Linked DNA regions of Homo sapiens: all the other regions are linked to region 6. Evidence: promoter capture Hi-C in 16 types of primary human blood cells and fetal thymus (Javierre and others, 2016). All regions are on one chromosome and are shown on one strand. The core of a region is centred on a gene start or on the middle of the fragment in contact, and the rest is flanking DNA. Distances in the headings are between cores, read along the strand shown. Region 1 overlaps FOSL2 (FOS like 2, AP-1 transcription factor subunit). Region 2 has its middle 8.2 kb from the start of PLB1. Region 3 has its middle 20 kb from the start of FOSL2. Region 4 overlaps BABAM2 (BRISC and BRCA1 A complex member 2). Region 5 holds the start of PPP1CB (protein phosphatase 1 catalytic subunit beta). Region 6 holds the start of MRPL33 (mitochondrial ribosomal protein L33). Region 7 has its middle 38 kb from the start of FOSL2-AS1.

Evidence for each region. The method cuts DNA at HindIII sites, captures the fragments that hold promoters and counts their contacts. A CHiCAGO score of 5 or more calls a contact.
Region 1: a fragment that was not itself captured here is called in contact with the fragment with the promoter of MRPL33 in region 6 in 14 of 17 cell types (megakaryocytes, endothelial precursors, M0 macrophages and 11 more); the score reaches 15.8 in megakaryocytes.
Region 2: a contact is called between a fragment that was not itself captured here and the fragment with the promoter of MRPL33 in region 6, in 1 of 17 cell types (M1 macrophages). The highest score is 8.7, in M1 macrophages.
Region 3: a contact is called between a fragment that was not itself captured here and the fragment with the promoter of MRPL33 in region 6, in 1 of 17 cell types (M0 macrophages). The highest score is 5.8, in M0 macrophages.
Region 4: a contact is called between a fragment that was not itself captured here and the fragment with the promoter of MRPL33 in region 6, in 4 of 17 cell types (endothelial precursors, megakaryocytes, monocytes and 1 more). The highest score is 6.6, in endothelial precursors.
Region 5: a contact is called between the fragment with the promoter of PPP1CB here and the fragment with the promoter of MRPL33 in region 6, in 1 of 17 cell types (fetal thymus). The highest score is 5.9, in fetal thymus.
Region 7: a contact is called between a fragment that was not itself captured here and the fragment with the promoter of MRPL33 in region 6, in 8 of 17 cell types (megakaryocytes, monocytes, erythroblasts and 5 more). The highest score is 6.3, in megakaryocytes.

What each region holds. Positions count from the first base shown.
Region 1 is chr2:28,411,858-28,414,557 of GRCh38, reverse strand. It overlaps FOSL2 (FOS like 2, AP-1 transcription factor subunit), which reads right to left. Exons shown (of 4, transcript NM_005253.4): 4 at 1-2,628. The coding sequence ends at 2,110. Among named protein-coding and RNA genes, the nearest start is that of FOSL2-AS1, 19 kb to the right of the region's middle. RefSeq lists enhancers at 308-912, 913-1,517. The HindIII fragment of the contact is 7,288 bases long and covers 1-2,700 here.
Region 2 is chr2:28,486,355-28,489,398 of GRCh38, reverse strand. No RefSeq gene overlaps it. Among named protein-coding and RNA genes, the nearest start is that of PLB1, 8.2 kb to the left of the region's middle. The HindIII fragment of the contact is 1,706 bases long and covers 861-2,566 here.
Region 3 is chr2:28,371,208-28,374,233 of GRCh38, reverse strand. No RefSeq gene overlaps it. Among named protein-coding and RNA genes, the nearest start is that of FOSL2, 20 kb to the left of the region's middle. The HindIII fragment of the contact is 7,642 bases long and covers 1-3,026 here.
Region 4 is chr2:28,338,890-28,341,836 of GRCh38, reverse strand. It overlaps BABAM2 (BRISC and BRCA1 A complex member 2), which reads right to left. Exons shown (of 12, transcript NM_199191.3): 12 at 2,936-2,947. Among named protein-coding and RNA genes, the nearest start is that of BABAM2-AS2, 30 kb to the right of the region's middle. RefSeq lists an enhancer at 1,248-1,867. The HindIII fragment of the contact is 1,851 bases long and covers 719-2,569 here.
Region 5 is chr2:28,750,234-28,753,116 of GRCh38, reverse strand. PPP1CB (protein phosphatase 1 catalytic subunit beta) reads right to left here and starts at 1,287. Exons shown (of 8, transcript NM_002709.3): 1 at 941-1,287. The coding sequence starts at 992. PPP1CB-DT (PPP1CB divergent transcript) reads left to right here and starts at 1,361. Exons shown (of 5, transcript XR_007086259.1): 1 at 1,361-1,474; 2 at 2,732-2,883. RefSeq lists silencers at 635-854, 1,345-1,534 and enhancers at 717-1,361, 1,665-1,874. The HindIII fragment of the contact is 5,134 bases long and covers 1-2,642 here.
Region 6 is chr2:27,770,438-27,773,137 of GRCh38, reverse strand. It overlaps MRPL33 (mitochondrial ribosomal protein L33), which reads right to left and starts at 1,419. Exons shown (of 4, transcript NM_004891.4): 1 at 1,339-1,419; 2 at 446-464. The coding sequence starts at 1,360. RefSeq lists enhancers at 1,238-1,367, 608-1,424, 1,658-1,777. The HindIII fragment of the contact is 2,472 bases long and covers 806-2,700 here.
Region 7 is chr2:28,430,876-28,433,664 of GRCh38, reverse strand. No RefSeq gene overlaps it. Among named protein-coding and RNA genes, the nearest start is that of FOSL2-AS1, 38 kb to the right of the region's middle. The HindIII fragment of the contact is 4,706 bases long and covers 1-2,789 here.

The DNA of each region.
Region 1 (2,700 bases), core at 131-2,630, 640 kb before region 6:
GTGCACCCCAGTTTTCTTTGCCCATCTCCTGCTACTCCTGGCTCATTCTGCTGCTTGGATTCATCTCAAGCCAGAAACCCAACTGCCCAATCTTCTTAGAAGGGTCCCTCCCAGAGCCCCTGGGAAATCGGGAGAGGGGCATCACAGCCAAGGGATGCAGGAAATAACATTTTTAAAGTATTTTAAACAAAATCCTTTTTCTTTGAAACCCTCCTTTCTGCATCACTTGTACAGGTCACTTCCAGTCCCACTGGCCCATGTACTTTAAGCATACGGCTGTTCCACTCTGTGTGTCTAGTGCACGAAAACAGGTCATGTTCATGAAATAACATGCGAGGGAACAGCTGTGTGAATGTGTCACTGCTTTCTCCACGGGGGATCTTAATTATCTTTCAAACGAGGATACTGTGACCTCTAGAGCTGAATCCCCAGCAGCAGAGTCTTTGCAGAGCACAAGCCCCGCAGAGGCTGGTTCTGGCCAGGAGCTACTCCCTGGATTCCTGTCAAGGCCCTGCTGGACAAGAAACTCAGCAGGAGCCATACCCTGGGGAGAAAAGGCTCAGAGGGGTGGGCAGCAGGGACCCTGCTGAGCTGTGCTCCTGCTGGAGGCCAGGGGGACCCTTCCCCAACCCCGTGAAAGGGGGCAGCTCTCCTGCAGTGGGAAGCAAAACATCCTATCTCCAATTCCAGCAGCCAGAAAGATTCAACAGACAACCAGGAATGGCGCATGAGCCACAAGCCACAGCGACAGCTCAGGCCAGCTGTTCACAGCTTGCTTGCTGCCTGGGCCAGAAGAGTGCACTGGGGTGGGGACAGGGGAGTGTAAAAGAGAAAGCACTTGATCCAGCAGGTGGCAGATGACCACAGAGGGCAGGAAAGGCCCGGTGCCCTGCGGGGAGGTGAGCAGCCAGGACAGGCTGAGCGGGTGCTGGGGCAGCAGCTGCTGCAGACGCCACTCCAGTGACGGCCTCCCGCCTCCCTCCCCTGCCTCTCCATCCTCAGCAAATGCTTCTTTGAGGCTTGGGGAGGGGCTGCCTGGCAGCATCTGGGGAAGGTCCAGGCCCACGCTCATTAAATCTCTGTGGGTGGCGTCACCCTGAGAGCCAGGGTGGGGGAAAGGCGGAGCCCGGCAGGGACTTGGAGTATAATGTGTGGCTCCTAGGGAGGGACGCCTCCCTGGTCCGGAGAGAAGGGTCCAGGGGCAGAATGGCAAGGCAGTAATTACAGGAGACGCCCTACTCAAGACACCAGGTGAAGGGAAGCTGGCTAGGACACCCGTGTGGCTTTGTTGGCATGCTTCCTGGCCTGGTAATTAGGCGTTTGGCAAACCCAACCTGTGCCCCACTGTCTCACTCACACCCTGTCTTCTGGCCAAGCCGTTCCTCCAGAAGCCGTCTCCGAAGGTGGGCAGGAAGGGTCCTCTGAGCCTCCCAGTGATGGCAGCATCTCCTTGAGAGCTCAGGGAGCCCCGCTGGGAGTTCTGGAGATGATGACTGGGAGGCGTCAGGGTAGGGAAGGCTCTGTATTGCACTTTGTCCCCTTCTGGACAAGTCAGCCCCAGCAGAAGAGCCACCTGCTGCCCCATCTCCAGAAATGAAGAGCTTTAATATTCAGACCACCCAGATGAAATGTCATGGCAAATTTGATAAAAACCAAGAGGGAGTGAAACTGACGCTGGGGGAGGAAAGGGTCAAGTCGAGGGAAGGTGAAACCAAAAGGCACTGAGCATGCGTGGTGGGGCAGGGAAGGACACCATCACTCCAGAGACAGTATGGTAACAAAGGGACAGGAATGGTCCAGGCCAGCTTCAGGCTCTTCAGAAGCCAGAGAGATGTCCAAGTCTACCAAACCGAGTTCTCCAAGGCTTTTCAAGAAATGGGATTTGCTTGCAAGATGAATGAGGGAGGAGGTCCCATGGCTTCTAAGAGATCAACCCAAGTCTTCCAATACTCACTGCTAAGTCCCACCTGGGTCCCCCAGAGCCAGGAAGCTCCCTGGTGGCAGGTCCCCCTCTTGCCCTCACGGCCCTGGAGCGCTTGAAGGTGCTGGTCCCTGGGAAGGAGGAGCGAGGAGGACCCCCTCCGGAGCTGGGGAGGGAGGTGCACTGGGTTACAGAGCCAGCAGAGTGGGGGAGTTCAAGGAGTCTGATGATTGGTCCCCGCTGCTACTGCTTCTGCGGTGAGCCTTGGAGCAGGATTCGGAGGGAGATGCGGGTGACTCCTGCTCCAGGACGCTAGGATAGGTGAAGACGAGGTTCGAGGTGCCCGGAGTGACAGCAGGTGTGGAGGTCACCACGATGGGGGTGTGCAGGGGCTCCTCACCGTAGAAGCCCCCAGCAATGCTGATGGGCTTGATGACAGAGCGCTGGGCCTTGTCCAGCCCCGCCGACGAGGACGAGGGGCTGTCCTCTTCCAGGGGCTCCTGTTTCACCACTACAGCGCCCACCGAGCCACCCCCACTGCGCATGGGCTGCAGCCCAGGGGCTGGGGGCGATCGGCGCTCCTCGGGGCTAATCTTGCACACTGGGCCGTGAGCCACCAACATGAACTCCAGCTTCTCCTTCTCCTTCTGCAGCTCAGCAATCTCCTTCTGCAGGCCTGACTTCTCCTCCTCCAGCTCCTCTGTCTCCTGCCACGGAAAGAGAGGGATGTGAGGGACAGCAACCTGCCAGGGACCAATCTAGGCAGGAAAGAGAAAACC
Region 2 (3,044 bases), core at 464-2,963, 720 kb before region 6:
CCAAGAGGATTAGTAAGTTGCCTAAGGCTGCTCTGCGACTAAGGCAGAGGCCAGAACCCTTTCCTCTGTACCACAGCCAGGGAGTGGCCAAGTTCAAGCCATGGAGACTCAATACAGACCCTGTGCTAGCAGATACCGCATAAAACCCATGTCCACTCCATCTCCATTCTGGGGAGGGGGGTCCCATGGAGACAGGCTAGTATGGCTGCTGGGTCCTGGTACATGGGAGAAACTTCCCTGGATCTTTTAGAGCTGAAATCCCCTGTGTCCTGGTCCCACGTGGCAGGGCCAGGAGATGGCTCTGGGGAGAGAAGTGTTGTGAAATTTGATGCTCTGCCCACCAGGGGGATCCTGTAGGACCACCTGCTATGGGGCTAATCTTTCCCTCACTTAATTCCCTTTGCATTCTGTCCATGGGAGCTATAATCTGTCCTTCAAATCCAAAAGAAATAACCAAAGGCTCCTAGTCTTTCCCTGGGAATCTCATGTGCTCCAGACCACAATGGGAGGCTCCTGGCTCCAACAGCCCCAAGCATCAGGCACTGACCCCATATATCCCCCTGGCCTGTGTTCAGAGGAGATCATCTGCCCAGAAAAGCTTCCACTGGACAAGGGGTCCAGGGAGGAAAGACAGCCTTTCTAGCCCCAGCCATGGCAACTTACCAGCTGGGGAAATCTCTTTATCCTCACTGCAGTCACTCTGGAATGGGCCTCTGAGCCTTTGGCTGTGTAACAGGGGATTGAGGTGGCGTGGCATGGGATGGCATGGCATGGTGTCATCAGCTTGTTGGGGCTGAGCTGTCAACATCATCAGACACTGGCACGTGGGTGTTAATAGCTTTGGCAATGATGTGCAAGCTTGCTTGCTCTCCCAGCTACGCAGTCCCACTATTTACCTTGATGGCACTCCCTGGGGAGAGGGTGGTGGTATAAGAGTAGGCAGGAGAAGATGAGGTGAGACTGGGACTGGCGTCTGTCCCCAGGGCCCTGATGCAGACTGGCCACTAGGCCTGGCTAGGTAGAGAGATCTGTGCTGACCTCCAGCCATAGGGACATCGAGCTGGACTGGGCACAGCCCTGAGTTTACCATCTCAGCTGGCTCCATCCTGAGGGACTGCCTACCACCTCTGCCTCTGGGCACCACTAGCTGACATTGCAGCCTCCTGTTCCTTCCCCTCCTCCCCCTCCCCTCCCCCTCCCCTCCCCCTCCTTCTCCTCCTTCTCCTCCTCCTTCTCGTTCTTCTTTTTGAGACAGGGTCTCATTCTGTCACCCAGGCTAGGGTGCAGTGGCTCAATCTTGGCTCACTTGGCTCACTGCAACCTCTGCCTCCTGGGTTCAATCCATCCTCCCACCTCAACCTCCAAAGTACCTGGGACCACAGGTGTGTGCTACCATGCCAGGCTAATTTTTGTATTTTTTATAGAGACGGGGTTTCACCATGTTGCCCAGACTGATCTCGAACTCCTGTGCTCAAACCATCCACCCACCTCAGCCTCCCAAAGTGTTAGGATTACAGGCATGAGCCGCCATGCCCTGTTCCTCTCTTCCTTCATGGATTCGGTAAGGGCTTTGTTTGTAACTGCAAGGTTAGCACCCAAAGAGAAAACTTGAGGAAACAGAATTTTCAAATTCCACATCTTCTCCATTCTAATCCCTGCATATTTTCATAGTACAATCTTTCTGAAACAGACTCTGTCTTATAATCCACAAAAATGTTTAGAAACTTGCCACACAGAGAGCGGGTGGGAAAGCCAGATTTTCAATCCAGTTTTTGTGCAGCAAAAACTTGTGTCTCTTAACCCAAGACACAACACCGCATCACTTTTGTTCAGTTGGGTATGGTCCTTAACTGACTCTCAGAGGCCTTCTAGGAGTATGTGGGAGGAGGAGCATCCAGGGACACGGCTCTCCAGAGAGTGGCTGGAATCTCAGCGTGGTCTCTGTGGGAAGCCTGGATGCCTCCTTCTACCTCCTACTCACTTTCTTCTTTGCTTCTGAGACAGAGCTGCTCAGACCAAGTTTCCAATTGTTCCTCTCTGTTGACCTTGAGATCCATGTTTCCTTAGTCATCCTGAGACTCTGAGTTCTGTGCACCTTAACATTTCTTACCTGAATTTGTGTACAATCCCTTCCGGGTCAGCATCCATCACCAGGGTGACCTTTCTAAAACACCTTCTGCTTACTTGTCCCTACCCTTCAATGTGGCTTCTGCTCCCACCACACTACTAGAATTGCTTGAAGGTCAGTAATTTGTTCAATCCAATAAACAATGAGGTCCTCAGACCTCATCTTACTTGCCATCTCAGCAGCATTTCACAGCCAACCTCGGCCCCTACTCTTGGACAACTTGCCCTTGGCCTCCAGGCTTCCAGTTTCCTGGTTTCTTCTCTCCAGCAGTTCCTTCTTGGCCTCCTTTGCCAGCTCCTTCTCTGCTGCTGAAGTTCGTCTGGAGCCTCCTCTTTCTACCTGTCTCTCAAGGTGACCACATACACCCCATTGTTTACTTAAAAATCTATGTTGACCATTCCCCCATTTCAATTTCCAGTCGGACCTCTCTTCTAAGCTTCAAACCCCATAAACTCATTCATGGACTAAGTCTCCACTTTGATGTTTCAGAGGCACCTCAAACTCAAGGAGTTAAGAACCAAACATATGATCTTCCCTGACTCATTTGTAGCCCCATCGGATATGACAAAAGTGGCTCATGAAACCACTCACTGTTCTCCATCTCCACTGCCCCCAGATGGGCCCAGGCATCTGTCCCTGCTCCCCTGAACAGCTGCCCAGCTGCTCCATGTCTACACACGCTTGTTCCAGTCTTTTCGTTTTCACACACAACAGCCTGAACAATCTTGTCAAAGGGCAAACCTGATGTCACACCCTTGTATAAAACCCTCACCAGCTTCCCACTGCCCTGCAGATCAAGTCCAGCCATTGTAGTGTCACTTACAAGGCCCTGTGCTCCCTCCTCTCTCCAGCTTCAAGTCCCACTTGGCCCATCTTCTCTGACCTCAGGCTCACTGAGGCTCCATCATATTCTTAA
Region 3 (3,026 bases), core at 442-2,941, 600 kb before region 6:
TTTGAAGATAGGTTGCACTTGTTTGCATAATAAGTCATAATTCCAAGCACGTAAAGTAAAATCAATTCATTAATGCAGCAAGCTGCAGAGGCATTCAACAGAGGTATTCAACAGCAAGCCCAGCCTCAGAACATCAATCCCTACCAGGGTTGCCCTGTTACACAACTCCACGCAATCGTCCTGCAACCCACTCCCTAGGACAAGAGCACGAGATGAGAGACATTGATACTCAGTGGTGTATTGGTAAATGTTTAATATCCAGTTCTTAAAAAAAAAAAATCCAAGTAACCCCCAAAACCCAAAACAACAATAACCTGATGTATAGCATTTGCAAATTGTCATGTTAGGGAAATTCAGGGAAGACTCTCCAGGTTGGCCTATGTTTGCTCTGAAAAATAGGGGTTAGGTCATCTGACAAAAAAGGATGGGGAGAGAGACAGGTGGGGGCTCGAGGACAGAGGTAAAAGTTTGGAAACTCTGTCTCAGGAACGCAAGGGGCTGTTGACCACAAGTAAAAGCACTCGTGAGCATTGGGCACCACACATTTGCAGTGGCACCTGTTGGCAGAGCTGTGCAAAAGCCAGTTGCAGGGTAACCTGGGGTGGTGTTAGGTTTATTCACTAGTAATTTATTTTAAAATAACTTTAAACTTCCAGAAACATTTCAAGAACAGTACAAGGAACTGCTATATCCCCTTCACCCAGTTTCTCTGATTGTTAACATTTTACCATATTTGTGCCTTCTCTCTCTCTCTGTGCCTCCCTATTCCTGTCTCTTTCTCTTCCTATGTATATATGTATAGAGAGTTGCATCTGTTTTTTTTTTGTTTTTTTTTTTTTTTGCTGAACCATTTGAGAATTTCAGAACAATTTATAGACTCGATGCCTCATTACCCCTAAGTACTCCAGTTTATATTTCCCCAACACAACATCTTCTCCTTGTTACTATCATTAAATCCTCCAAATTAGGAAGTCATAATTAATTTAACACCATCCTCCAACCCATGGACCCCATCCAGATTTCTCCAACTGTCCCAATGATGCCTCATTTGCCTTTCTGGTCCAGGTTCCAAGTCAGGGTTCTGAGCTGCGTTGAGTTGTCATGCCTCATTAGTTTCCTTGAATAGGAAACAGATCTTCAATCTCTCCTTGTCTTTTGTGACCTTGACAGTCTTCAAAAGTTTGGGCCATTTATTTGGTAGAATATGGCCCCCCAAATGAGTCTGTCAGTTGCCACTCTGGGGCTGGGCATTCTTGGCAAGGATGCCACAGAAGAGATGCCATGTTCTCCTCGGGGCATTACACATTGGGCTTATGATTCTGACCTGTCCCACCATTAGTGATGTTAACCTTGACACCAGGTCAGGTTGGTGCCTGAAAGATTTCTCCACCATAAACTCACCGTCTTTCCCTTTGCATTTGATAGGTATGTGGTGAGGAGATGCCAAGACTATAAAGCCTGTTCCTCATCAAATCTCGCCCACCAGCCTTAGCATCGTTTGATGACTCTGACCTTAATCAATCACCATTATGATGGTTGCCAAACAGTGACTATTTCTGTCACTCACTCTACATTTATCAGCTGGCATTCTACTGTAAGAGTTTTCCTTTCTCCCTCATTTATTTATTCATTCATTCACTTATATCCATCTGGACCCATGGATCTCCACTGTAGTCAAAGCGTTGTGATCCGTTACTGTAATTATTTCTTTTGATGCTCAAATTCTCTCAGTTTTAGTCAGTAGGAGCCCCTTCAGGCAGACTCCTGTGTCATTTTGACATGTCCGCGTTGTTCTTTGAGCACTTCCTTACTTTCTGACACAAAAAGATGTTCCAGTCTCATCTTGCATTATCTCTGTTCCAGTCCTGGGATCACCCCTTTCTCCAAGGATCTCTGGTTCTGTTTAGTGGAGAATGGCATTTATTTATTTATTTACTCATTATTATTATACTTTTAAGTTCTAGGGTACACGTGCACAACGTGCAGATTTGTTACATATGTATACATGTGCCATGTTGGTGTGCTGCACCCGTTAATTCATCATTTACATTAAGTGTATCTCCTAATGCTATCCCTCCCCGCTCCCCCTACCCCACCACAGGCCCCGGTGTGTGATGGTCCCCACCCTGTGTCCAAGTGTTCTCATTGTTTAATTCCCACCTATGAGTGAGAACATGCGGTGTTTGGTTTTCTGTCCTTGTGACAGTTTGCTCAGAATGATGATTTCTAGCTTCATCCATGTCCCTACAAAGGACATGAACTCATCCTTTTTTATGGCTGCATAGTATTCCATGGTGTATATGTGCCACATTTTCTTAACCCAGTCTATCACTGATGGACATTTGGGTTAGTTCCAAGTCTTTGCTATTGTGAATAGTGCCGCTGTAAACATACGAGTGCATGGGTCTTTATAGCAGCATGATTTATAATCCTTTGGGTATATGCCCAGTAATGGGATGGCTGGGTCAAATGGAATTGCTAGTTCTAGATCCCTGAGGAATCGCCACACTGTCTTCCACAATAGTTGAACTAGTTTACAGTCCCACCAACAGTGTAAAAGTGTTCCTATTTCTCCACATCCTCTCCAGCACCTGTTGTTTCCTGACTTTTTAATGATCACCATTCTAACTGGTGTGAGATGGTATCTCATTGTGGTTTTGATTTGCATTTCTCTGATGGCCAGTGATGGTGAGCATTTTTTCATGTGTTTTTTGGCTGCATAAATGTCTTCTTTTGAGAAGTGTCTGTTCATATCCTTCGCCCACTTTTTGATGGGGTTGTTTGATTTTTTCTTATAAATTTGTTTAAGGAGAATGGCATTTAAAAATTGAGATCTGGGGCTTTCTAGCTTACTGCTACTGGGGTATCATTGCCTCGTAGTAATTGCCTCTAATCAACAGCATCGGTTGTCAGTTCCAGAATGATGTTAAACAATAGTGGCAAATCCTGGCATCCTCTTCTTGTGCCTGAGTTGAACATCAATATCCCTCGTGTTTCAGCATCACGCATGGTGCTGCCTATTGGTC
Region 4 (2,947 bases), core at 395-2,894, 570 kb before region 6:
GAGATGGTGCCACTGCACTCCAGCCTAGGCGACAGAGCCAGAGTCCCTCTCAATAAAACAAAACAAAAAAAAAGGGTCATTTGGCTGTAGGCGATGGGTCCTCAGGAAGCCGGGCTGCTGGAAGAAGCTGAGCATTGGCTAACCAGGGTCCCTTGCCCCTCCTTCTCGGGGCCTCACAGATGCTTGATCATATCCAAGTATTGCTGGTAAACACGTGTGAGTCCTTTTCCTCATCAGTGCTAAGCAAGAGAGATTCAACTGAAATTACAAGGGCTGAGTAAGCCGGAGACAGGATTTACTAAGTATTAATAATATGCTGTCACATATGGTTCTTTTCATCTTCAAAGCATTTTATAGCCATTTACTAATTAGTCTTGGGCTGCCCTCTGTGTGCAGGTACGATGCTCGATGACAGGCTGAACCGGCAGGAAGTATTTACAAATATACAGGTGACCTTCACTCGTTTACAGGCGCCACCGGCTTCTGTTGCTGTTGCGGGGTAAAGATAAAATCACGCAAACCCTGGTGTTTGAGTCCCTGGTTCTGGAAACATACAGTGGTGACTGTCACCTTGTGCTGAATCCCCTCTAAGAAAACCAGCCCAAATCCTCCCCTGTGGCAAGGAAGCTGAAAGTCTTTTAAAAATAATCATAAATTTCCATCTTCACAAACCTATATAACGTCCATCATCCTTCACTGGGAAATAAAAAAATAAGCTTCAGTTTGTTCACGAGAGTATCGACACACGTGAGAATTGTTGCTGGAGGGGAGCCAAGAGCCTGGATTTGGTCTTGGCTCCGGCCCTGACCGGCCGGTGATCGTGGGTAACTCACTTAACTTCTCTCATCTTCTGTTTCCTCATCTGTGGAACAAAAGCAACCCTATTCAGTTGCTCACAGCCCAGGTCTGCTGTAAAGCTGTGTGAGCTAATGTGTGTGGCAAAACTTCTGAGTTAGACTGTGTGCTTCGCTGATGGGCAGGGTCTCATTCGTTTTCTGGGTCTGTGGGCCCCCAGGGGCTGGCAGGGGCAGGAGGATGACATTCCCAGACCACACTGCCCACTACTGGCTGCTGTCACTGCTGAATGCTTATTTGAAATGCTGAGGGGACGACCAGTCCACAGGACCTCACCCCCTCCCACAGTGCCAACCACCATCTGCTAGAAGTGGAACCAGTAAGAGTTGACTGAGCCTGGGCTTGCTTCAGACCCAGTTGCAGCTCAGAAGCAAGTCCGGGCTCAGTCAACTCTTGGTGCTGTGCACAGTAGAGCCCAATCCGTACCCCTCCATCAGGGGAGGGTGCCCCTAGCAATCCTAAGTGACCATGCCATGGCACCTTAGTGGGGGATGGAGGGGACATGGGGCATAGCACACAGCTGCCCTGAGTAGAGGGGCACCTTCTTGTGGGCACTCAGCGGGTCAGGGTCAGAAGCAGTGCCAGTGTGGTCAGCTGGCTTAGTGGGTCATGATCACTTGCTCAGTAGAATCGCTGGGGGAGTTTTATCAAAATCTAGAAGGCTAAGCTCCAGCTAGTGAGATTCCAAGTCAACAGGCCTGCAGTGGGAACTACCAGAGCAGTAGTTCCTAAAAAAATCTCCCCGGGTGATCTGATGAGCTGAGCCCACAATCCAGTCCAGCCCCCTCCTAGTATTAATATTATGGAGAGGAAGGGACTTACTCAAGGCCACATAGCCAGTTAATGGCAGGGCTGGGATATGGACATAGGACACTGGACTGTTGTTCTTGTCCTGGGAATTCCCAAAGTTTCAGGGTAGGGGGCATAGTACCCACACGGTGAAAAAACCCAGAGTTGGGCAGGCCTCCAGCTGACAGGCAAGATGGGAGGTCTGTTCCAGCTGATCTCCAGCCTCCTGAGAACATTCCTGGGTGCCAGAGAACACAGGAAGCAGAGGCACGACTTCTCCTCACCAGTCTTCACAAGGGCCCAGGGATGGTTCTCTTTTGCGCTCACCTGGTAAAAATGGGCTCCAATAGCCACGAGGGGAACTAAGGGACCAGGTGAGAGGCCCTGTAAAATCATGTGTGTGTCCTGCAGGAGGGGCCAGTGGCTTCGCCTTGGAATGGGAAGGCCAGAGGGTGTCAGGTCGAGCACCCAGGCCAGCTCTTGCCCTCACCTCTGTGGGTGGTGCGTGGGCCCTGCTTCCCTGTGTGGAAGGCCATCAGGACAGGACCATGCTAAACCAAACTGTAAACCTGGTGATATGGCCAAGCCGACGGTAGCCATCTTGTGTTTCAGCTAAGCGAGTGTGTGATGGTACAAGGAGGCCTGGCTCCAAGTTCCCAGGTTTGTTCCTAATTTGCTGTTTCTAATTTGCATGTTTCCTTAACTCTTGGGCCTTAGTTCTGTCCTCTGTACACTGAAGGGAGTAACGGGGTAGAAACGAGATGACTTCTGAAGACCCTTCTGGCTGTGATGATCAGTAAGTTCAGGGAAGATGTCGCCTGCTCAGGGTATCTTCCCCAGCTCTGTTCCTGGCTGGCTGCACAACTGCCAGTCCCCAAGCCCAGAAAGCAGACACATTCCTCTGATAAACCATGACACCCAAGCTTTGTCTTTGTGTATAATTCACACAGTGCTGCAGAGGCCCAGAGGGGATGGAGAGGGGAGAGCCGGAAGGACAGAGCCGTTGGTGCACTCACCAAACTTTAATGACTGCCTACTGTGTGGGGCTGGCCTGGGAACAAGGTGTCCACACAGGGGGCTGGAGGGGTATGGATGGCAGCGGGTGGGGCTGTGTGTGCTAGAGGCCATTTGTTATTGAGCAACAGCCTTAGGTCAGGCTGGATGAGTGGCTGAAACCCAGCAGGTTGGTCACATTGACTCAGGTAACTCCTTCTCGCCGTGAAGGACTGCCCCAGATAGGAAATGCTTGGGTATGAAACACACACATGCACGCACAGAGGGAAGACACTAGTTTCAGAGGAAG
Region 5 (2,883 bases), core at 38-2,537, 980 kb before region 6:
AAGACTGCATTTAACTTTGAATAATATCCTGCAATGAATCAATACATTTAACTCCCGGCTAGTCCACCTCTTCGTTTTCCCCCCTTGCCTTCCCACCAACATAAAACTATTCAATAAGAACACTTGAGCCCGGAAAGTTCAAATGCTGCGTAGACCTACAAATACCTTTCGAATACAAGACAGGCTTTAAAAATAGATTTTCACTAAGTTTGTGCAGAAATTAAGCTCTGCTCAAATCAAATGCAAAAGCCAATCCCTTCAGCAAACCCATCTACATACATCACATTTCTTAGGTGCATCTTCAACCTGATCAAATATCTTGTCTTACAATTTTTTTAGGCCAAGTAACAAACGGTAGATTAATTCCCGCTAATTTTATCCTCTCTTTAAGAAGAATCCATTCTATATAGCATTGTGTAAAAATGCAGAGCAGACGAAGCAGTCCTGTTAAGGACAGGTTTATATATATATACGTAAAATTCACTCCCGGAACGACAATCGGAGGCAGCCAAGGGCAATGCACAAAGAGAACAGAGAAGAACAGTGATTCCACGGACGCACAAAGCCCAGTGGCAGGCATCCTCTCCCCATCCTCGGGTCACCGGAGGCGAGCACCACGGCGCGCGGAGCCCGGCGGCCTTTCCGAAAGGCTGTCTCCCGCAGACCCGCTCCGCACAGCCTTCGGCCGGCGGGCCTGGCCCCCGAGGGTCCGCGGGAACGGCCCCCTCTCCCCCGATCTCCCCTGACCGCGCTCCCAGAGGCCGCTCCCCCGCGCCCAGAGCCTCCTCGCCCCCTCCTCGGTTCGTCCGCCGCGCCGCGCTCCCAGAGACTCGTCTCGGGGCGGGAAAGGGGTCCCCTCGCGTTCCGGCGGCAGACGGGGACGCAGGGGTCGGCGGCGGTGCCCGACCTCCCTCTGTCCCGCGGCCAGGCGCGCACTCACCCTCCAGCAGCCGGGTGATGAGGCTGTCCACGTTCAGCTCCCCGTCCGCCATCTTGTCGGCACAGACTCTCCTTCCCAGCAGCGGGAACAAGGGCTTCTCGGCGGCGGAGGCTGCGGCGACGGCTCGGCGTTCTCTCACCTACAAGTCACGCGGCGTTTCGACCCCGGCTCCAACTCCCCCTTTTCCCGGGCCCTCCCCCCACCCCCTCCCCGCCGGGTAGCGAGAGCGCGCGCACACTCGGAGGCACCCACGGAAAATAAATAAATAAACAAGAGAGGCCCCCTCGAACAGGGCCGCGTCAGACCCAGGCCGCCACCTCCTCCTCCTCGGCACCGCCCAGCTCCGCAAAGCTCACCAGCGCCGCCGACGGCCCCACCCGCAGCGCCACTCACTCCGCACGTCCCTTGCGCGCCGCCGCGTCACGCAGCTCTCCGCGCAGGCGCGCGGTGCGCTCCCCGCCGAGGCTCCCCTCGACGCCTGGGCCGCCGCGCAACCGCACTGGAGCGGCTTCTCCCGCTGCCGTCTTCGCGCAGGTGCGTCGCCCTCTCTCCACGTCCACGGCGCCGAGTCTCGCCACGGTGGCGCAGGCGCCAGGGAGGTTCCCCGGCTTTGCCGCGCGGAGGAAGTCCCGGTTACGCAGAGCGCGCTGGGGCAGGGCTGACCTTCCCCTTTCTCTACTTCACTGGCCTCCTCCAGACGTGGTGGTTGCGCCCTTTCGGCCTCGCTTTCCGTTTTTTGGCTTCATCCCCTAGATCTGCAAACAGTTCCTCGTGTTTCTTCCGTTAGCCGGGAAACGCGAACTGCAGCGTTTGGGACCCGGGTTTGCGCGTGTGGAAAGCAAAAGGGGTTACTCTGCTGGAGTTCGACATTGCAAATAAAGGTCTTTATCCCCGGCGGTTCTACAAAATTAGTTCTGCAGGGATTCTGGTTGAAAGAAGCGTTAAAGTGGGCCTTGTAGGAGTCAGCAATAATCCAATTTTACATGGGTGCAGGTGGCTGCCTGTGTCTAGCGCTTTCACACATCTCATATCTTCATCCACGCCGTGGGTATTTTTTTTCCACGGTGTGTTTCTGTTGCTGCCTCCAGTATATTGCTTAATCATCCTACCTGGTAATTATTTATGCATTTTTCTCCTACTCTCGACTCAGCTCCTAGGGAATAAAAACACATTAACTTATCTTTGTGCCCACAGCACCCACCAAGTATTTCCATCACGTAATACTGCCTCTAGAAAGGCAGGAGGAGAAGCAGTCACGCTAAGGATCTAGGCAAGCCAGATCTTTTGTCCGGTTTTAGGAGGTGGCCAGCCCTTACTTATTCCACAAGTGTTTTTCCAGAAACTCAGACTTGATATTGCCTCAAGTCCAAGGCAGTGTGCTTCCCCCACTCACATATCACTAATAGTAGCTAACATTTGTTCAGATCCCTGTATGTACTCTGCCACTGTTTTAAATGTTACACCCGGGTTACCTCATTTAATCCTTACAACTGCCCTGTGAGGTAGGTACTATTATTATCTCTACTTTGTAGATGGGATTCACCGAGGCACAGACGGTTAAAAAACCTAGCCCAAATAACACAAATAAACAGCAGAGCATGCAGTGCTAGAGTCTGCATTCTTAACAATTGCTATATTCTCCCTCTCCGTGAATGTGGGCTGAGATGCTGAAACAGGCATGTGCTGTGGGGGAGAAAAAGCTTTGTCCAACCAAGTGCTTTCTAATGTCCAGATGACATAGAGCTAGGATTTCCTAATGTCTTTTTTCCCCTATTTTTCTCTCCATTTCAGGGTTGAGTTTGTGCATCGATTGTGAACACAACAGGCAGCAGGCTATAATGGTGGTCCTGGCTGGAGTAGTTTTCACAGACTTCAGTAATCTGTGGAGATGAACGGGCAGTTCTCTGTAGTTTTCACAGATCACTGCCAGTTCGTTTTGAGGC
Region 6 (2,700 bases), core at 170-2,669:
AATGCAAAGGATTACAAAACTCATTAAAACAGACTATGATTTAATCAAAGCAGAGTTTGTTCTTCTGGATTCCCGTAGTGAGCTCCAGACACATGGCCCCTGGTCCTCGATTTGAGGAAATGGAAATATGGTGGTAGTCCAAATACAGCACAGCCCAATGGTTTGTTTAGAAACAGACAGTGAGCTCACAAATCCTGGGACTAGAAAAGCAGCAAAGGTTCCTTCAAGTATTTCAATGCTCACAGAAGTAGCTCAGTTCAGCAGGAGGGAAAATATTTTTGAAAGAGTTCATAAAGAAAAAATAATCAACTAAGTAATCCACAAACCAACTCTTAGGAAATCAAGGCCCAATGCTTAATTTCATATAAGGATGTACTGGGAGCAGCTAGACTAACAAATCCAACATAAACAAGTGACGTTTAAAAAAGGAAAAATCTTTACTTACTTTGACTTGCTCTTGGCAACTTTTTTGTAGACAGGAAGGGTTGGAAAAGAAAATAAAAATATAAATGTATTCTCTTTCTTATGCAAAGTTCATATAAATATCAGTAATAACCAAAAATATTTAACTTATGAAATATGCCATGAGGTGTCACTCAAGTAACTATTCCCTATCTATTAGGGATCCCCTTAGGATTTTATAGAAGGAAGGTTAAAAGATCCAATCAGACCAACACAATTCTAGATTTAATATTTTGCATAATTTCATGACTGTTGGACTGGCTACCTTTTAAATCTTTCTAAAGTAATACCTGCTCCATTTTTTCCCTCTTCTAAGGTGCAAGTATTCGCGCTGCAGCAAGCTTCTTGTTTGACAAGTTTAACCTTTGCAAATTACAACAACCATCACATGTGGTGAAAACCAGATACTAAATCTAACTGGGAAGTCAGCCAAGGGTAAAGAAGAGCACTGACTCGGGAGCCCGAGGACTTCTTTAACTGCCCTGCCGCATTACTCAGGCAATTCATTGCCCCTCTCGGGAGCGGTTTCCTTATTTTTAGAGTTCGAAATAGGTGGGCTGCAAATTCTGAGGTCCTTCGGACAAAGATTCTCCTAACACGGGCTGGAGAAAAACGCCCCACAGCCAGACTCAACGGTCCGTGAGGACGGCAATTGAATCCAGACACCGCAGACCCCTTCTCAGGCACCCACAGGTCCGCGCAGGGAGGCGCGCCGCGGGGCATGCCGGACGCTGTGGTCCTGAAGGCCTGGAAAAGTACGCAGCTGCAGCTTCCCGTCCTGTTCGCACATCCTTCCCCGCATCATTCCGGGGCCCTGCCTGTCACGGCCCCCTAACCCTCGCCGTAACCCCTACCGGCGTCTCCAGCCCCACTTACAGAAGACCGCGGAGAGGAACATGGTGACCACACCTGGGCAGTCTCCGTCACCGGCCAAAAGGCCCCCAACCAACAACAACTGCTTCCGGGGCACGGCCCGGTTCTGGAAGAGGACATCCGGCAGTCGCCCGAGGCCACGCCCCCCGCCTGGAACCTGCCTCCAGTCGTCTGGCTCGTTCCTCGGTTTCTCAGAGCGAGTGTGTTTTGCTTTTGTCGTGCTGGAGGTTGGAATCCTCATCATTCTGGAAAGGGATTTACAGCTCAGGGTTCGCGCCCCGGCCCTGACTCCTATTTCTGGGTCAAGTGCTTTCAGCGTTAGGTGCTTTCCATATTTGTTTCACGAAATAATCGCAACCACCTGCATTAGACCCACAAGAACAACTGTGTATTGTACTTCGGCCGCTCCAGCGTATCAGCCCCTCGCATATTTTCTTAAAATGTTGCCTCCCCCGACCCAACTCCCTCTCCGCCTGGTTAAGCCTTACTCTCACTCTTCTGAGTCCCTTCGGCATTAAGAACCCCACCTTTCCTTAGTTATCCCAATCTCTAGGAGGGCAGGACCCTTTGCATCTCAAACTTCTGTATCCAAACACCTAGCACAGTTCCTGACATAGAAGCCAAATAACAGATTGAGAGCATTCACATCACGTGCCTAATATCACAGAACTACCAGGTGGCAGAGTAAGAATTTAAACCTAGATTTTATCTGACTCCAAAGACTCATGCCTTTCCCAGTAGACATTGGGACCTACCAGTTTGCAATCATTAATTTTTCATGGCTCTGTAAGGAACCTGGGCTCCTCTAACACCAAGGACCTCGTCAGTAACCTCATTTCGCAACTAATAATCAGGACTTTTGGATTTTTTTCCTAATCCGTGATTTGTATCTACATATGAAGTCTTACAGATGTGAAATAAGATTTAATCGCATGGCTCACGCCTGTAATCCCAGCCCTTTGGGAGGCTGAGGCAGGCAGATCACTTGAGGTCACGAGTTTGAGACCAGCCTGGCCAACGTCGCGGAATCCCGCCTGTACTAAAAATACAAAAATTAGCTGAACCCGGGAGGCGGAGGTTGCAGTGAGCCGAGATAGCGCCACTGCACTCCAGCCTGGGCGACAAAGTGAGACTCCGTCTCAAAAAAAAAAAAAAAAAAAAGTAATAAAACTGTTTTAAAGAAAATTCAGCTCTCTGTGCCATCACAAAGAAGATGAGGAGGAAAAAAATCAGCTCTCCATACAATACAATTCAATTTTTTAAATTAAGACCGTCCTTCTCCTTAGTACCTATAATACTTTTTTTCCTTCTAATCATTCTTGATATTTATCTTCCCATAACCGGACTCCAGCTACTGAGTACCTT
Region 7 (2,789 bases), core at 240-2,739, 660 kb before region 6:
CCCCAGGATCAACCAACCCTGACAGCACCTTGATCTTGGACTTCCAGCCTCCAGCACTCTGCACGGATACATTTCTGTTGTTTAAGCCTCTGGTCTATGGTGTTTTGTTGTGGCAGCCTTAGTAGATTAATACACCACATAAAGCACTAGAACAGTATCTGGCATACAATACGCAATAAATGCTAACTACTACCACCATCAACATTCTTTCCCTCCATTGTATACTCACACTGTATTAGTTTCTGATTGCTGCTATAACAAGTTACCACAGCTGTACCAGCTTAAACACAAGTTTATTACCTTATGGTTCTAGGAGATCCTAGAACCATAAATGTGTGCTGTTTACATAAGTCAAGAGTCTCCTTGGGCTAAAATAAAGGTATCTGCAGTGCTGCATTTCTTCTGGAGGCTCCAGGGGAGAGTCCATTTCTTGCCTTTTTCAGCTTCCAGAGGCTGCCTGCATTCCTTGGCTTATGGGCGCTTCCTCCGTCTTCAAAGTCAACAGTATAGCATCTTCAAATTTTTCTCTGGCCCTCCTGCCTCTCTAAGGATCCACAGGATTATATCAGACCCTCCCTGATTATCAGGGTAACTTTCCCATCTTAAGAGCCTTAATTCAGTGACATCTGCGAGGGTACTTTTGTCATTTAGGATAACATATTCAAAGATTTGGGGGATTAGGATGTGTACATATTTGGGGAAGCATTACTCTGTCACACACACAATGTATTATAAAGTGAGAAAAGCAAGCTGTAGGACAAATGCATATAGATCGATCTTGTTTATGTAAAAAAAATCAAATAAATTTCTACAGAGAAAATAAATACAGACAGAATGAAACTGACAAAACTATTAACCATGGCATTTTCTGGGGCTTCACACTGTGCATTTAAAAACATTTTTTATAACATGCGTCTTGTTCATTAATTATTTTTACGATTTTTAAAAATTTTTGGTAAGTAATCCAAAGAAAAAAAGAAGACACATGTACTCATCTTTGTGGGGCCCCGGCTAGAGTCATCAAATAAATCGCCAGTACCAAAAGCTCTCCGTAAGTATTCTAGGCAGTGTGGGCAGAGCACTGTGGCCACTGGGGCAGGAGCCGCCCACTGCCTGGGGCACCCTGGAAGGCTTTGGAGGAAGTGACACTTCTGCTGAGTTCTTCCGGAGAAGAAGGAGTTCTCCAGGTAGAGGGAAGGGAGAAAAGTATTGCAGATGACCACGGCTCAAAAGGAGTCTGCCCTTTATCTGGCAGTGTAGGTGATGTGGAGTAGAGGCTGGAGGTAGGAATCTGCCACTTGACCATGGCCAGCCACGTGGAGAGATAAAGGCAAAGGGAAGGGAAGCTCCTACCTGGAGCCGCAGGCTGCCAGGCCCCAAGCTGAGCGGTTTTGTAGGCATTTCCTCACTGGGTATAAATGAACCTTGGCTGTATGATTTATGGGAGGAGAGAGGGTCCGGAATGGATGAGAAGCATGAGAAAAGGAGGCAGGGGCTTGGGGCAGGGTCTACCGTTAGAGCAGCAGATGCAGGCTGGGAGGGGTAGGGCCAGAGCTGGAGGAACACCCTCCCCACGCTATCCCCAGACACTTCTGGGCTTCTTATGGCCCCATCCACCAGTTCTGCCCCAAGGCAGGTCTAAGTTCCAGAAAAGACTTAGGCAGCCTAATAGGACTTGGGGCCAAGGGAGCTTCCCAGGGACCCTGACCCTGGACCTGGTGCCTAAGGGTCGACAAGTGATCTCCAAGAGGTGCCCCAGGCAAGTGGCCACAGACCTGGCCCAGGTCATCCTGGCAGCAAGGTGCTCTGCATAAAATCCTTGAAGGGTATGGTATCCAAGCCAGGGCCAGGCGTGGGTTAGGTGGGGGTGCTGGGCCCGCTGGTGGGGAAAGCAGGCTGAGGGACTTCAACCAGTGGCCATCCACCTCATGAGCTTGTCCTGACTTGGAGAGACAGCACATGTCTTGAGGATGCAGCTGCAGATATAACAGATCTGTCTGTGGCAGAGAGAGATGGTGGGGTGAGCGGGATTGGATTAGGGGGTACCATCTGCAGGGTGCCAATGGCATGCTGGCTCCCATGATGGGCTCAGATCTCTGTTCTGTCAGTCTCAAGCTGTGTGCCCTTGGACCAGCTATTTAGCCCCTTCCTCGATTTTCCCATCTCTAAAGTGAGGGTAATGATAGTGTCTACTACATAGGCTGCTGTGTGTTAAGTGCATAGAACAGCTGGCGCATGGTGAGGCTGCTTCGGTGCTAGTGGCAATTCCTTGTGGCCCCTTCAGGGATCTCCCAGCTGCGCCTGGCAGGCAAGGGCCCCTTCAGGGTTTCCACACTACCCAGTGCCACTCTCAACCAGTCACCCTCTTACACCTGCTCCCAGGGCCCATGTGTGGCCTACTGCCCAGGGAGGAAAGGAGTGCTGGCTCTGGGGTGGTGGTTATGAGGCTGGGGGCTCTGAAATGCCAGAAGCACGGCCCCTGGTGTGAGAGGAGAGGACAGGAGGAGGTGGGGTTCCAGAGTAGCAGAGACACTAAACAGGGAGATCCTCCCAGGGCTGAGCCGAGCACACCTGCTGGTCACCAAATGCCCAGGGTTGGGCATCAGAGACAGCCTCATATGGGCCAGAGCTCCTTAGCTCTGTGTCACAATGCCGAGGTGTCTTTCATTATCTCAGGGGCCATTGTGAAAACATCTGTGTGCCAGGAAGCCCTGCTGAGAAGGTGGAAGTAGGCGTCACAAAGTCAGAAATACTGATGGGTTTGGTTCCACTCTGGAGAGGCAGGTTGT